Linked DNA regions of Homo sapiens: all the other regions are linked to region 1. The links are contacts of gene promoters, found by promoter capture Hi-C in human tissues and cell types (Jung and others, 2019). All regions are on one chromosome and are shown on one strand. The core of a region is centred on a gene start or on the middle of the fragment in contact, and the rest is flanking DNA. Distances in the headings are between cores, read along the strand shown. Region 1 holds the start of ANKRD62 (ankyrin repeat domain 62). Region 2 has its middle 44 kb from the start of C18orf61. Region 3 has its middle 44 kb from the start of ANKRD62.

Region 1 (4,296 bases), core at 982-3,481:
TAGGTGGGGATGCTGTACAGGGGGGTCCGGGAAGGGGGCTGGGGCCAGGCAGCAGGTCAGTGCACCTGAAGCTGGGGGTGCCCATGGCAGAGGCCTCCTGGTGGCTCAGGGGGTGGGCCAGCTTCTCTGCCTCCTGCTCCACTGATTGGCTCCCGTACCCCCGTCTTCCTTCATCTCTGCTGTGCTGGGCAGCTTGTCTCAGGTCTCTGGACCCCTCAGCAGCCTCACTCCCTCCTCTAGGCCAATGCCAGACAGCGCCTCCAGCAGACCTGCCAAGTCCTCGCCAGCCAGCTCATAGCTGTGCAGGAGGCTGTCACTGGGCGAGGCCGTCTGTTGGTACATGTCCACCAGGCTGCGCAGCCCCAGCCGCTCTGCCAGCTCTGCCCAGCTGCCCTGGGCTTCTGGCCCATCTAGCAGCTGCTCCAGGTTCTGCAGGGCTGTGTCACCAAGTGACAGCCCTGGCCCTGCAGGGCTGGGTGGGGTCAGGGGCAGCTAGCTCCATGGTGTTCAGAGTGGCATTTAGCAGCAAGGTCTTCACCTTGGTGCTGTGGATAAGGTCGAGGCGTGTGGCCCTGGAAGCTGCTTTGGGTGTCCTTCTCAGGCCCCTCTGAGTCCCAGTCGTTATCAGAGGTAGGGGGTGAGGGCAGTGGGCACAGGGGCTCCTCATTCTCAGCATAGATGTCAGCACTAGCCTTCAGAAGGAGGGTGAGGGTTGGGGACTCCAGTCCAGCTGCCAGGTGCAGGGGTGTGTTTCCCACAAAGGTGTGAGCATTCCCATTGGCCCGAAGCTTGGTGACCAGATGGGTGACCAACCCCAGCTCCTCCATCTCTGTGGCTAGATGCAAGGCTGTTTGGCCCCCTGCTACTCTGTGGCCTCCACTTCAGCCCCACTGTCCACCAGCAGATCCAGGCACTTGGGGCTTTGGGCTTGGGCCGCCAGGTGTACTGCAAAGTCAGGCATGTGCAACAGCCGAGGCACAGCGGGAGCTCCACTCCAAAGCAGTGCATGCAGCAGCTCAGAGGCACCAGGGCCTGCCTGCAGTGCCAGGTGCATGGCTGAGTCTCCATGCCAATCAGCAGTGCTGGGTCTGCATCCACCTGAAGCAGAAAGCTCACCACCCTCATCTGCCTGGTGATCACTGCCAGGTGCAGGGGTGTCTGGTGCAGGTGGTTGGTGAGGTTGACGATGCCAAGGTGCTGGGTGTGGTAGATGACATGGGCTATGTGCTTGATGACCCTGGTCGGCCCATGGATGATGGACAGGTATAGTGGCGTGTCTCTGTTCTCGTCCTGCTCCAGCAGGTGGCATTGTCCCGCCAGCAGTGTGCTGGCGTCCGTGGTGACACCATAGTTGAGTAGGGCCTGGGCGCTGCGCTGTGCCGTGCCACACCAGGCTGAAGAGCGTTGTACTCTCGGGCTCACTGCAGCATCTCCAGGGCCTGCAGCTGGCACTGGGGAGGGGTCCTGGAGGGGGCTAGGGCTATGGCCGTGCGGGGCCAAGGCTAGGGCTAGGGCCAGGTCTGCACTAGGGCCAGTGTGAGGGCCAAAGCAGGATCAGGGCAGAGCCAAAGGCAGGGCAGGGCAGGGCAGGGTAGAACAGGCCCAGGGTAGCACAGGGCAAAGTTAGGGCAGAACCAACCAAGGCAGATCTATGGCTCTGCGGCTTCCTCCTGAGTCCCTGCCGGGCACTAAAAGCCTGGCTCTTTTTTTTTTTTTTTCCAGACGGAGTCTCGCTTTGTCACCCAGGCTGGAGTGCAGTGGCGTGATCTCGGTTCCCTGCAAGCTCCGCCTCCCAGGTTCACGCCATTCTCCTGCCTCAGCCTCCCAAGTAGCTGGGACTACAGGCGCCCGGCACCACGACCGGCTAATTTTTTGTATTTTTAGTAGAGACGGGGTTTCACCGTGTTAGCCAGGATGGTCTCGATCTTTTGACCTCGTGATCCGCCTGCCTCGGCCTCCCAAAGTGCTGGAATCACAGGCGTGAGCCAGCCAGCAGGCGGCGCTCGCGAGAGTGCGCAGCTCCCGCGAAGGGCCTCGCGGGCAGGCTGAGGTGCGCATGTGCCCTGGTGCCTAAGGGTTCTGGCCGGGGAGGCGGGGGGCGGTGGGAGGTGGGGGGAGGGCGGGTGCGCCACCACGTGGCGCCCGCGAATGGAGGGCGCGAGGCTCAGGGCTGTTTCTCCGCGGATGGCCTCGTGGGCCGGCTGAGGTGCACATGCGCGCTGGTGCCTAACGGCTCTGCTGGGCTAGGTGCTCCTCCGAGCAGCTGGAGACTGGAGTGTCCCTGACGGAGGTTGCGGCTGGACCTGGTTACGTGCTGGTGCTGCGCTCCAGAGAGGCAGAAAACGAGTGGGAGCTGAGGTGTCTTAAAGCCGTTCCTCAGCCTGGGAGAAGATCTCTGGCTTCAGGATGGAGGTCAGGGGGTCGTTCCTGGCGGCCTGCAGGAGACGCATGGCTACCTGGAGGAAGAATCGTGACAAGGATGGCTTCTCAAATCCCGGGTACCGAGTCCGGCAGAAGGATCTGGGCATGATCCACAAAGCTGCCATCGCAGGTGATGTGAACAAGGTGATGGAGAGCATCTTGCTCAGGCTGAATGACTTGAACGACAGGGACAAGAAGAACAGGTAAGGGGAACAGGAAGCCGGGAGGAGGCCTGGGGATATGGGAGAAGCCCCTGTTCCTGGTTTCGGGGTAGGGGAGATACGGTGTGGGGTGAAGGCGTGGGTGGGGTGGAAGTCAGGTGAGGGTGGGTGGGGTGGGGGACTGTGGTGGGGAGTGGCTGGGGGGCGTTGGATGTGATGGGGGACTGTGGTGGGGGTAGAGTTGGGTGGGGGACTGTGGTAGGAAGTGGAGTTGGGTGGGGGTTGGAAGGGGTGGAGGACTGTGGTGGGGGGTGGGATGGGTTGGGGGACTGGTGGGGAGTGGCTGGGGGGCGTTGGATGTGATGGGGGACTGTGGTGGGGGTAGAGTTGGGTGAGGGACTGTGGTGGGGAGTGGAGTGAGGGTGGGTTGGGGTGGAGGACTGGTGGGGGGTGGGATGGGGTGGGGGACTGTGGTGGGGAGTGGCTGGGGGCGTTGGATGTTGGGGGGACTGTGGTGGGGGTAGAGTTGGGTGGGAGACTGGTGGGAAGTGGAGTTGGGTGGGGGTTGGATGGAGTGCAGGACTGGTGTGGGGGTGGGTGGGGTTGGGGACTGTGGTGGGGGGTAGAGTTGGGTGAGGGACTGTGGTGGGGAGTCGAGTGGAGTGAGGGTTGGCTGGGGTGGGGGTTGGATGGAGTGAGGGGACTGGTTGGGGGTAGAGTTGGGTAGGATGTGGGTACGATGCAAGGGTGGGGGTGGGGGTGGGGTGAGTGTTGTCACCAAGGGCACTGGGCTTTCTACCCTGGCAGCCTCAGCAGCACCTGGGATGTGGAAACCTTGCCTTTCTTCACAAGAAAAGTAACTATTTGTTCTGAAGGCAGAGGGATAACATACTATTGGATGTTTACAATTGCATGCGTCGTTGTATGTTTTGGGACTGTGCACTACAATTGCCTAAAGCGACCTCTCATTCTCACAGGACTGCTCTACTTTTGGCGTGTGCCCATGGCCGTCCAGGAGTGGTAGCTGACCTGGTGGCCAGAAAATGCCAGCTTAACCTCACTGACAGTGAAAACAGGACAGCTCTGATCAAGGTATATGGTAGCCAACTCTTTCAGCATGGGATGGATTTAATTTAAATTCACAGAATAAAATTAATTCACCTCATTGAAATGTGACTAGTTGGTGAATCCTGTGGAAGATTTCCTAGAATTTACAGTCTATTTCTTGGTCTAATACTGACAGGCTGTACAATGTCAAGAAGAAGTTTGTGCATCCATCCTGCTGGAACATGGCGCCAACCCAAATGTTAGAGATATGTATGGCAACACTGCTCTGCACTATGCCATTGATAATGAGAATATATCAATGGCAAGAAAACTGCTTGCATATGGTGCAGATATTGAAGCAAGAAGCCAGGTATGATCAACCAATGTTCTTTTCAAAGTATTTCAAGTATATTTGTTTTACCATTGACATATGATTTTTTTTAGTAAAACATCTGAAACTAGAAGGAAATATATTACGTGCAAATATTTGCTTTACATACAACTATTTAAAAATACATTCATAACAAATATGAAAACACGAGGTCTGTAGTCTAAATGTGTCCCATAGATTTAGGTTAGTTTACCTCCATAAGCTGTGTCAACATGTAAAATTTAGGAAACTCATACACATGTCTAGATTTCAGGCTTCTCTTAAAGGATCACATCT
Region 2 (4,296 bases), core at 1,092-3,591, 63 kb after region 1:
ATCACTATTCGCAATAGCAAAGACATGGAATCAACCTAAATGCCCAGCAGTGACCGATTGGCCAAAGAAAATGTGGTACATATACACCACAGAATACTATGCAACCATAAAAAAGAATAAGGTCATGTCTTTTGTGGGAACATGGATGAAGCTGGAGGCCATTATCCTTAACAAACTAATGCAGGAACAGAAAACTGAATACCACATGTTCTCACTTATAAGTGGGAGCCTAATGATGAGAACTCATGAACGCAGAGAAGGGAACAGCAGACACTAAGGTCTGCTTGAGAGTGGAAGGTGGGAGGAGGGAGAGGAGTAGAAAAGATAACTATCAGGTACTAGGCTTAATACCTGGGTAATGAAATATGTACAAGAAACCCCTGTGACACAAGTTTACCTGTGTAACAAACCTTCACATGTACCCTGGAACCTAAAATAGATGTTAACAACAACAAAAGAAAATGTAACTGTCTGAAGTGTAACTCTCAGTCCTGGACTAAGATGTACCAGAAATGTAACTTATTTTCCCATAACAATTTTTATTCTAGTGCTTATTCTGGCTTGAAAACTTAATATAAATTTGTTTTATGAGAATTTAATATGAGTAAATGTGAGTCTCCACATCCTTTTCCTTTAAATAGTGGCTAAATCACTGGGGACTTGCATGGTGCCAGGAACTTGCAGGAGGCCACATCTTGGCTTTATTGCCTGGTTCTCAATCCCAAGCCTACATAGTTTATTGTGAAAGATTCCTTCTTCCTGTTTCCATTGACTTTTTTATTTTCTGACTCCTGTGGTTCTAGACTGCCATGGAGCACACATGAAGTTCCTGTGGACACGGGCTTCCTTGTCCCCATGGGCCACTACTGTTGAGGCTGTCAATGACCTATCTGCCTGGGCTTGGGGGATCTGAGCCAGGCCTAGGTGTACAAAGTTCCCCTTTCTTTATTCTCTTTATTCCTTTCCTCTCTTAATCTCAATGATAATCTCTTAGAGCCATTTTCTTTATAATGATTTCCCCACAAGGAGCTCCTAGTATATTCTACCTAATGTCTTTAGGTGTTAGGAAATACCAAAGCAGAACCTAGCTGGCCACTTCCATTTTCTACACTGTCATCCCTCCTAAGACTGAACCCTGGAAAGGGTACTTCCTTCAGATAGACATTGGGGAGATAGAAAGGGGGAAATAGTGGGAGGAAGAAAAAGTCAGTTGGTGATATGGCTTAGGTATTTGTCCCCTTTAAATTTCATGATGAAATGTGATCGCCAGTGTTGGAGATTTGCCTTTCTGTGGTAATGAGTGAGTTCTCACTCTGTTAGTTCAGGCCAGAGCTGATTGTTTAAAGGAGCCTGATACTACCTTCTCTCTCTCTCTCTTTCTCTCTCTCTCTCTCCTTCCCCCCTCCCTCTCCCTCCCTTTCTCTCCTTCCCTCCTCTCTCACCATGTGACACACCCGCCTGCTCCCCCTTTGCCTTCCACCATAATTGGAAGCTTCCTGAGGCCTGACTAGAAGCAGATGTTGGTGCCACGCCTCCGGTGCAGTTTGCAGAACCATAAACCAAATACATTTCTTTTCTTTATAAATTACCCAATCTCAGGTATTTTTCTGTAGCAACATGAGAAGAACTAACACAATAGGTATTTCAAAAATATTCTCCAACTCCATAATCCATTAGACCTCTCCCTGTCAAAAGGAGTATCCCACATGTCATGGACTGGTAGATCCTCATATTCTTCATGGTTTTGTTTCTGCTTGCTTGCTTCTGTGAAATCTGTTTTTTAATCTATGGATTAGATCCACTACTGAGTCAGGACGTTGATTTAGTGGGTAAAGAACAGTATTTTTAAAAAGGAATATACTAGAATAGAATAGGAAAACTTATAGAGCATCACATAATATAAGTCTAGATATTACTTTGAAGCTTGCATTTTATACACATCTGTGTGTGTTCTAAGCTGTGAGGAGATGCATCTCTTACTGTTGGCTCTAATCAAAGTTTTAAAAACACCATTTTAGGGCATTTTTAGCTGTCACTGAATTTGCTATACCATTTAGTTCTCTCTTGAATATTTTTGTTTTCATAAAAAATATCCTATATTAATTTTTAAAAACATGGTGTACGTGGGTTGTAACTTTGAGTCATTGCTTGATTGAAAATGTCACATTTTTGTCTTCATAGGGTAGAAAAGTATTTTCCCTCTAAATTTTAAAGGCATAGTTTTGCTGATAAGATATATGATAACTTCCTCTCTCACTCTCTCGCTCTCTCTCGCTCGCTGTCTCTCATTTTTTTAAGAGACAGCATCTCACTATGTTGCCCAGGCAAGCAATCTGCTTGCCTCGGCCCCGCAAAGTGCTGAGATTAAAGGCAAGAGCCACTGTGCCCAGCCCAAGATAACTTTATAGGCAAACTTTTTTCTCCCTCTCCAGAAGCTTTCTGAAGTTCTACTTTGGGATGCTGAAATCTGTCTAGGGTATGTCTGATAAAGATATTTTGCTTGTTCTGCTGGGCACTTATTTCAACAAGCATTTTTAAAAATCACTTTTCAGACTTTTTATACAGTAAAATTTATTCTTTCTAGAATATGGTTCTATGGGTTTTGATAAACACCTGTAGTCAAGTAACCACGACCATGATCAAAATGTAGAACATTTCATCACTCAGAGTGACCCCTTTGTGATGAACCAGGCCCTATCCTCGCCCCTGGCCCATGTAAATTACTAATTTCAACAGATTTTATTTTTACTTCTTCAGTAGGTCTTTGATTATTTTTGATTTCCATTTTTTGCCTTGCCAATTTTGTTCTTTGGTGAACTAGACTGTGTTGTAATATTTAACATAATATGATGTAATATCCTTTGAATGTTTTCTGTTCATGAATTATCTGTTTGAAGGTTTCTCATCCGTGAATTATCTGTTTCTCCTAGGGCTAGTGTGTTCGCTTGTGCTCAGATTCTGCCTCGCTTTCTATTTACATCTTTGTCCTTTCCTTTCTTGCTGTTGGATTTCCTTAAATGACTGGGTGGTCATTGGCTGTCTGTTCATTTTTATGGACAAGGAGGAGGCTGAATAGTATAGGTGGCCAAATGGGTTTCCACTGCAGCTGGAAAGGTCTGATTCCTGAGCAGGTCTTAAAGGTCTTGGCTGGGATGGGCAACTATGGGCTTCTACAAGTGCTGCCAGTGGCCAGGGATGTCAACAGACCAGCTTCCCTGTGGTGCGTAGGTGGGAGTGGCTAGGGTGAACCCCTTATGTTCTTGGAACAAACAAACAAAAGCAGGGAGGCTGTATTTTGGGGTCATGAGCTTTAGAACATCTTACCCTTGGGTAGTGTTGGCTCCCCCTTCCAGCGTCAGGTTTGGAGATCCACAAGTCACCTCCAGGCCTGCCTTCCTCATCTCAGGCCACAAGACAAGGTGTGTCCCCACAATAGGCAGGTGGCTCACTCTATTCAGAGACAGGCCTAGGTCTATGCTGGGGTATAAATACCTCTCCTGCCAGAGGAACGTGCTTTGTTTAGAGGTAGTAAATGAGAAGGCAAGGGACCTGAGTAGCCAGCTGATGCTGATCACACCTCTTTGAATAGCCTGGTCATTGTGGCTTTGGTGACATTTCCAGAGTCCCCTTCTGTCTGGTATTTTTGGCTGTTGTGTTCTTTCATCATTGTGTTTCTGTCTGTTAACTATCAGCTAAGGTATCTTCCTTTTGTCTCTACCATCAATGCTTTTATTATTTTAAACAATCTCTTCCTCTGTATGTGCAACCTGAAAAGATATTGCAAATAGGATTACTTTTGCAAATTGTTAATACCCTACAAAATTGCTTTAGAAATTTTTTATTTTTATTTTTTATTTTTTTTGAGACGGAGTCTCGCTGTGTCGCCCTGGCTGGAGTGCAGTGGTGCCATCTCGGCTCACCGCAAGCTCTGCCTCCCGGGTTCACGCCATTCTCCTGCCTCAGCCTCCCGTAGCTGGGATCACAGGCGCCCACCATCATGCCTGGCTAATTTTTTTTTTTTTTTTTGTATTTTTAGTAGAGATGGGGTTTCACCGTGTTAGCCAGCGTGGTCTCGATCTCCTGACCTCGTGATCCACCGGCCTTGGCCTCCCAAAGTGCTGGGATTACAGGCGTGAGCCACCGCGCCCGGCCAGAAATTTTTTATTTAACACACATTTAAAAATATTTCAGCTGGGCTTCGAGTGGGAGGTGCTTCGTTTGCCATTTGAGTTGGAAGTGAATATATATGATTTTAAAGGTAATAAGTGTATTTCTTTTAAAATATGGGGCCTAGTT
Region 3 (4,296 bases), core at 1,266-3,765, 43 kb before region 1:
GGCAGTGCAGCCATGGATAGTGCACCCAACAAGCCCCCCGTCGTGGGCAGTGCAGCCCCAGATAGCACCCCCACCTCGCTCCCCACCATGGGCAATGCAGCCAGACCAGTCAGTGCCCCACCAGTCCCCCCAACCCCCACACCACCGGCAGTGTAACCCCAATAGTGCCCCCAACCTGCTCAGTAGCACTTTCAACCTGCCCCACTGCTGCCAGCAATACAGCCTAGGATAGCACCCCCAACCCGACCTCCAATGAAGGCAGTGCAGCCCAGGAGAGCTTCCTCAATCTGCTCCCTGCCAAGGGCCGTGCAACCCCGGATAGCGCCCTCAAGCGGCCAGCCCCGCAGCCCCCAGCTGTATAGAGGGTAATAGTGCCCCCAACCACCCCCACTCCCCGTAGCATGCAGGCAGCGCAGCCCCAGATAGCACACCTAAAGTAGTGACGCCCAGAATAACACCCCCAACCAGCAGCCCCGGATAGCGCACATACCCTGTTGCCCTTCTACGCTCTGGCTGGCTGCAGTCTCAGTCTTTGCCACCAACCACAGCGAGGTGAGCAGTGGTGCCGCAGGCTCCAGCCTCCAGCTTCCAGCCTCCAGCCTGTGGCAAGTGACTCCTCCTTCTTCCCTTCCTGTAGCCAGGCATGGAGCAGCTCTCACTGCCAGCTGCCTCCTACCGTTCCATCCACTCTGCAGTCTCCATCTAGGTTCCTGGCATGGCAGTAAGAGTTCTACTAATGGCCAACTCAGTACTTCTAGCTCTCCCTGCCTCCCTGCCGGACCTGCACATGCCTGAGGCCTGCCAGTGACACTGGGACTTGATGGGACTCAGGGGGGTTAAAGTGTAAGGGAAGAGAAAGAGATGCTTATAGCAATGAAATAAGCAAAGGAAAAATAGACATGAGTAATTTTCCCATGATGATTACTCAGCAAACCCACATAAACTCTTTTCATTTTTCTCAACCACGAATCCTTAGTCCTCCCTCTATGGGGTGCTCACATCAGATTCTACCCAGGTAAGCACAGAGCTTTCTGTGTCTGGAAGTGAAAGTGCCAAGCCTTGCCAGGGTCACCCAAAGGGGAGCAGGGGTTGATGGCTCCAGGACTTCAGAGGCCACCCTTCCAAACTGCCTCATTTTAAACAGAAAACTGAGGCTGAAAGAAGGAAGCAAATTGCCAACATCTTCTAGAGCTACCAATCCCAGAGAAAGATGAAAGAAACCTGGCAAAGTAAATTAGAGTTCCCAAATCACCACAAGTGTAAAAGTCAACAGGCAGGCACCAAAACTAATAATATCTTCACACAGAACTTGAAATGCAACTCTCTCTTTGATTACCAGGAAACCCCAGCTCAGGGTTCTAAATCTATCATGTACCCTTTGACATTTTTTTTCCTCCATTAACACTCACTTTATCCAAATATGCCCCCTCAGAGATGGAGTCCAAAGCTGGTTTCTGGAAGGAGACAGAGAGAGACCCCTCTGGTCCCGTGTCATAAGCCTGTGGGGCAGGTCAAGACTGCCTCTTGCCATGGCCCTTCTCTCTCTTTGGTAAACAGCAGCCTGCTCCACTTGGGAGCACACCCAATATGGCATGACTGGGATCCCACATGACTGAGGGTCCAGGATGGACATATAAGAGATTTTAAAGAAAAGTTTATCCTCCTCACCTTTTCCCTCTGCCTAGTAACAATACAATCTACACACTAGCTCCTCTAGAAAAGTCTGCACAGTGAGAACTGACTATGTGCTCCCAGCATTTAGAGACTTGCTGTAAAGCCAACCCAGGAATATCAGGGCATTTCACTGCAGATGGTCAGTTGACCAACCCCCTTTGGAAGCTATTCAACAGGTGTGACCATGGCACAATGACCTGGAAACAGGCATCTCTCACCCTTCCTCTGTTAAAAAACCTGAAATCCTGAAAAGGCAGAGCAGATACAATATTTTTACCTTTTCATTTCCATCCTAAACTTTCACCACTCCAAAAAATCTAAAATGATCTTTCATAGAATAACTCCACTTAAATGCCCTCAGAACTTTAGCTGCTATATGCGTTGGTTTGGAATGCAGTTTGAAGTATTTGAGGTTGTTCTAATTCTGCAAAATGAAAAGGGAAGCTAGGCAAATACTGAAACTTGCAACCACAATATCTCATTACTTTGCTGAATAAATTGTATAAATTTAAAATAGAAAAGTCACAGCACTCCCTGCCTAGGCCAAGTAACTATTGGTAGTGCTCACAAGCCTGCAGGGCTTGGAGGATCTCCTGATCCCAGGCAGTACCTTCAAGTCCCAAATGTTGTGGAAGTGCAAAGGATCTCCCAGGCACGCTATTAGCCTTTGCCTTTGGAGCTCCACAGCCACTATCTTATTGGAGTAGCTGTAGTTGCAGATCTCAGTTCCCTTTTTCAAGTGGCAAACCTTTAGCTTCCTCTGAGCTTTGAGGTTCAAAATGGCCACTAAGGTGCTTGACAACAATTTTCTATAATGCACGCATCTTCGGTATCAGTGCAATTCAGGGATCTGTTCCAGCTTATCCACAGAAGAAGGGAGAAAAATTTATAACTGGACTTACTACCCACAGCTAGGGATGTGTCCTTGTTGGAGTTGGCCCAGCTGGCACCGGCCTCTGATCTGGCTCCCCCGGTTCACAGCTGGGTGCACAGGGGTTGCGATGTGCTCAGGGTGTGCGCCAGTCCCACTTTCTGCCTCGGTGGCTGCCACTACCTCTCTGGGATCAGCCACAACCTTGTCCCGTCCCTCCTTGTTTTTCTAGTTTCTTGAAGTAGAAAGTTAATTATCGTTTTGAGGCCTTTCCTCTTTTCTGAGGTTAACATTTAGTGCTGTTAATTTCCCTATCAGCAGGGCTTTATTCAATTCCATGAATTTCTAAAATTTATTTTGAGGCTTTTTCTTTGATCCAAATATTATTTAGAAGTCTGTTGTTTCATTTCCAAGTGGTTGGATATTTTGCTGTTGTCTTTCTACTATGAATTAATTCATAGTTTGATTCATTTCATTATGGCCAGAAAACACACTCGGAATGATTTCAGTTCTTTTATACCTGCTGAGGTTGGTTTATGGCCCAGGATATGGTTTATCTTCCTGAATAGTCCATGAGCACTTGAGAAAAAGTGTATATTTTGCTGTTGGGCACTGTTCCGTAAATGTTGCTTCTACCCTATTGGTTGATGGTGCTCTCCTGTTCTATGTCTGCTAGTAATTTAACGCCTAGTGATTCTACCAACTGCTGAGAGTGAGGTGGTCAGACTTACAACTAGAATTTAAAATGTGCCTATTTCTCCTTTCAGCTCAGTCAGTTTTATTTTGTGTACTTTGAGGTTCTTTTGTTTGGTGGGGACATATTTAGGATAACTGCATTTTTGTTGGATTGATACTTTTATCGTTATATAGTGATCTTTTTGCCCACGAGTTTTCTTTGCTCTAGAGTCGACTTTATGTGATATCAATGGGGCCACTCTTACTTTGATTTGAATAATGTTTGTATGGTATATCTTTTTCTATTCTTTATCAACTCATGTTGTTAACTATGTTATGAATTTCCTATAAATATTTTAGAATTATGTTTCTTGTTCTTTCCACTCTGTCAATTTGTATTTTGATACACATTGATTATTTACATTTAAGATAAATATTGCTATGTTAGGCTGCTATTTTATTTGTTTTGTTTTCTCGGTTTTTCATTCATCTATTACCATTTTCTTATTTTCCTGTTGGTTATATCAACATTTTTTAGATTCCATCTTGTTTATTTGCAGTGTTTCTAAGCACAATACTCTTTATCGTTTTCTTAGCAGTTCTAGATATTAAAGTGTGCATATGTAACTTATCACAGTCTATTAGTCAGCATTTTACCACTTCAAGTGAAATGTAGAAAGCTTCATTCTACTTAGATCCCTTTACCCTCCCCCCTTTTAAATAGAATTAAGTATTTCCTCTACATACAGAGCATTTTTCTCCAAACATCAAATATGATGTCAGAAACTCATGAGAAACAGATTCTATTACATTTCCCCCTATTTCTGCCAACCTCCAATGTTCTTTCTTTCCTGTGTTCCCAGCCTTCCTGCGTTATATACTTTCTATTTAGAGAACCTCCTCTAGTCATCTTTTTAAAGGTAGGTTTGCTAGCAACATTTTCTCTTAGTTTTCCTGTCTGGTAAGCTTTTTATTTCCCTTTGTTCATGAATATAGTTTCAAAAGATAGAGAATTTTGTTATGGTTCTTTTCTTTCAGTATCTGAGAAAATGTCCTACACTTCCTTCTGGCCACCA

What was found. Contacts are between HindIII fragments. The study calls those that stand out against the background at their distance.
Region 2: a contact is called between a fragment that was not itself captured here and the fragment with the promoter of ANKRD62 in region 1, in 2 of the 25 tissues and cell types used here (H1 embryonic stem cells and spleen).
Region 3: a contact is called between a fragment that was not itself captured here and the fragment with the promoter of ANKRD62 in region 1, in 1 of the 25 tissues and cell types used here (adrenal gland).

Annotation. Positions count from the first base shown.
Region 1 is chr18:12,091,612-12,095,907 of GRCh38, forward strand. It overlaps ANKRD62 (ankyrin repeat domain 62), which reads left to right and starts at 2,232. Exons shown (of 14, transcript NM_001277333.2): 1 at 2,232-2,624; 2 at 3,560-3,674; 3 at 3,826-3,999. The coding sequence starts at 2,407. It also overlaps the pseudogene LOC100533852. The HindIII fragment of the contact is 7,146 bases long and covers 165-4,296 here.
Region 2 is chr18:12,154,682-12,158,977 of GRCh38, forward strand. It overlaps a transcript of ANKRD62 not described here. Among named protein-coding and RNA genes, the nearest start is that of C18orf61, 44 kb to the right of the region's middle. The HindIII fragment of the contact is 5,580 bases long and covers 1-4,296 here.
Region 3 is chr18:12,048,082-12,052,377 of GRCh38, forward strand. No RefSeq gene overlaps it. Among named protein-coding and RNA genes, the nearest start is that of ANKRD62, 44 kb to the right of the region's middle. RefSeq lists an enhancer at 2,480-2,669. The HindIII fragment of the contact is 3,055 bases long and covers 989-4,043 here.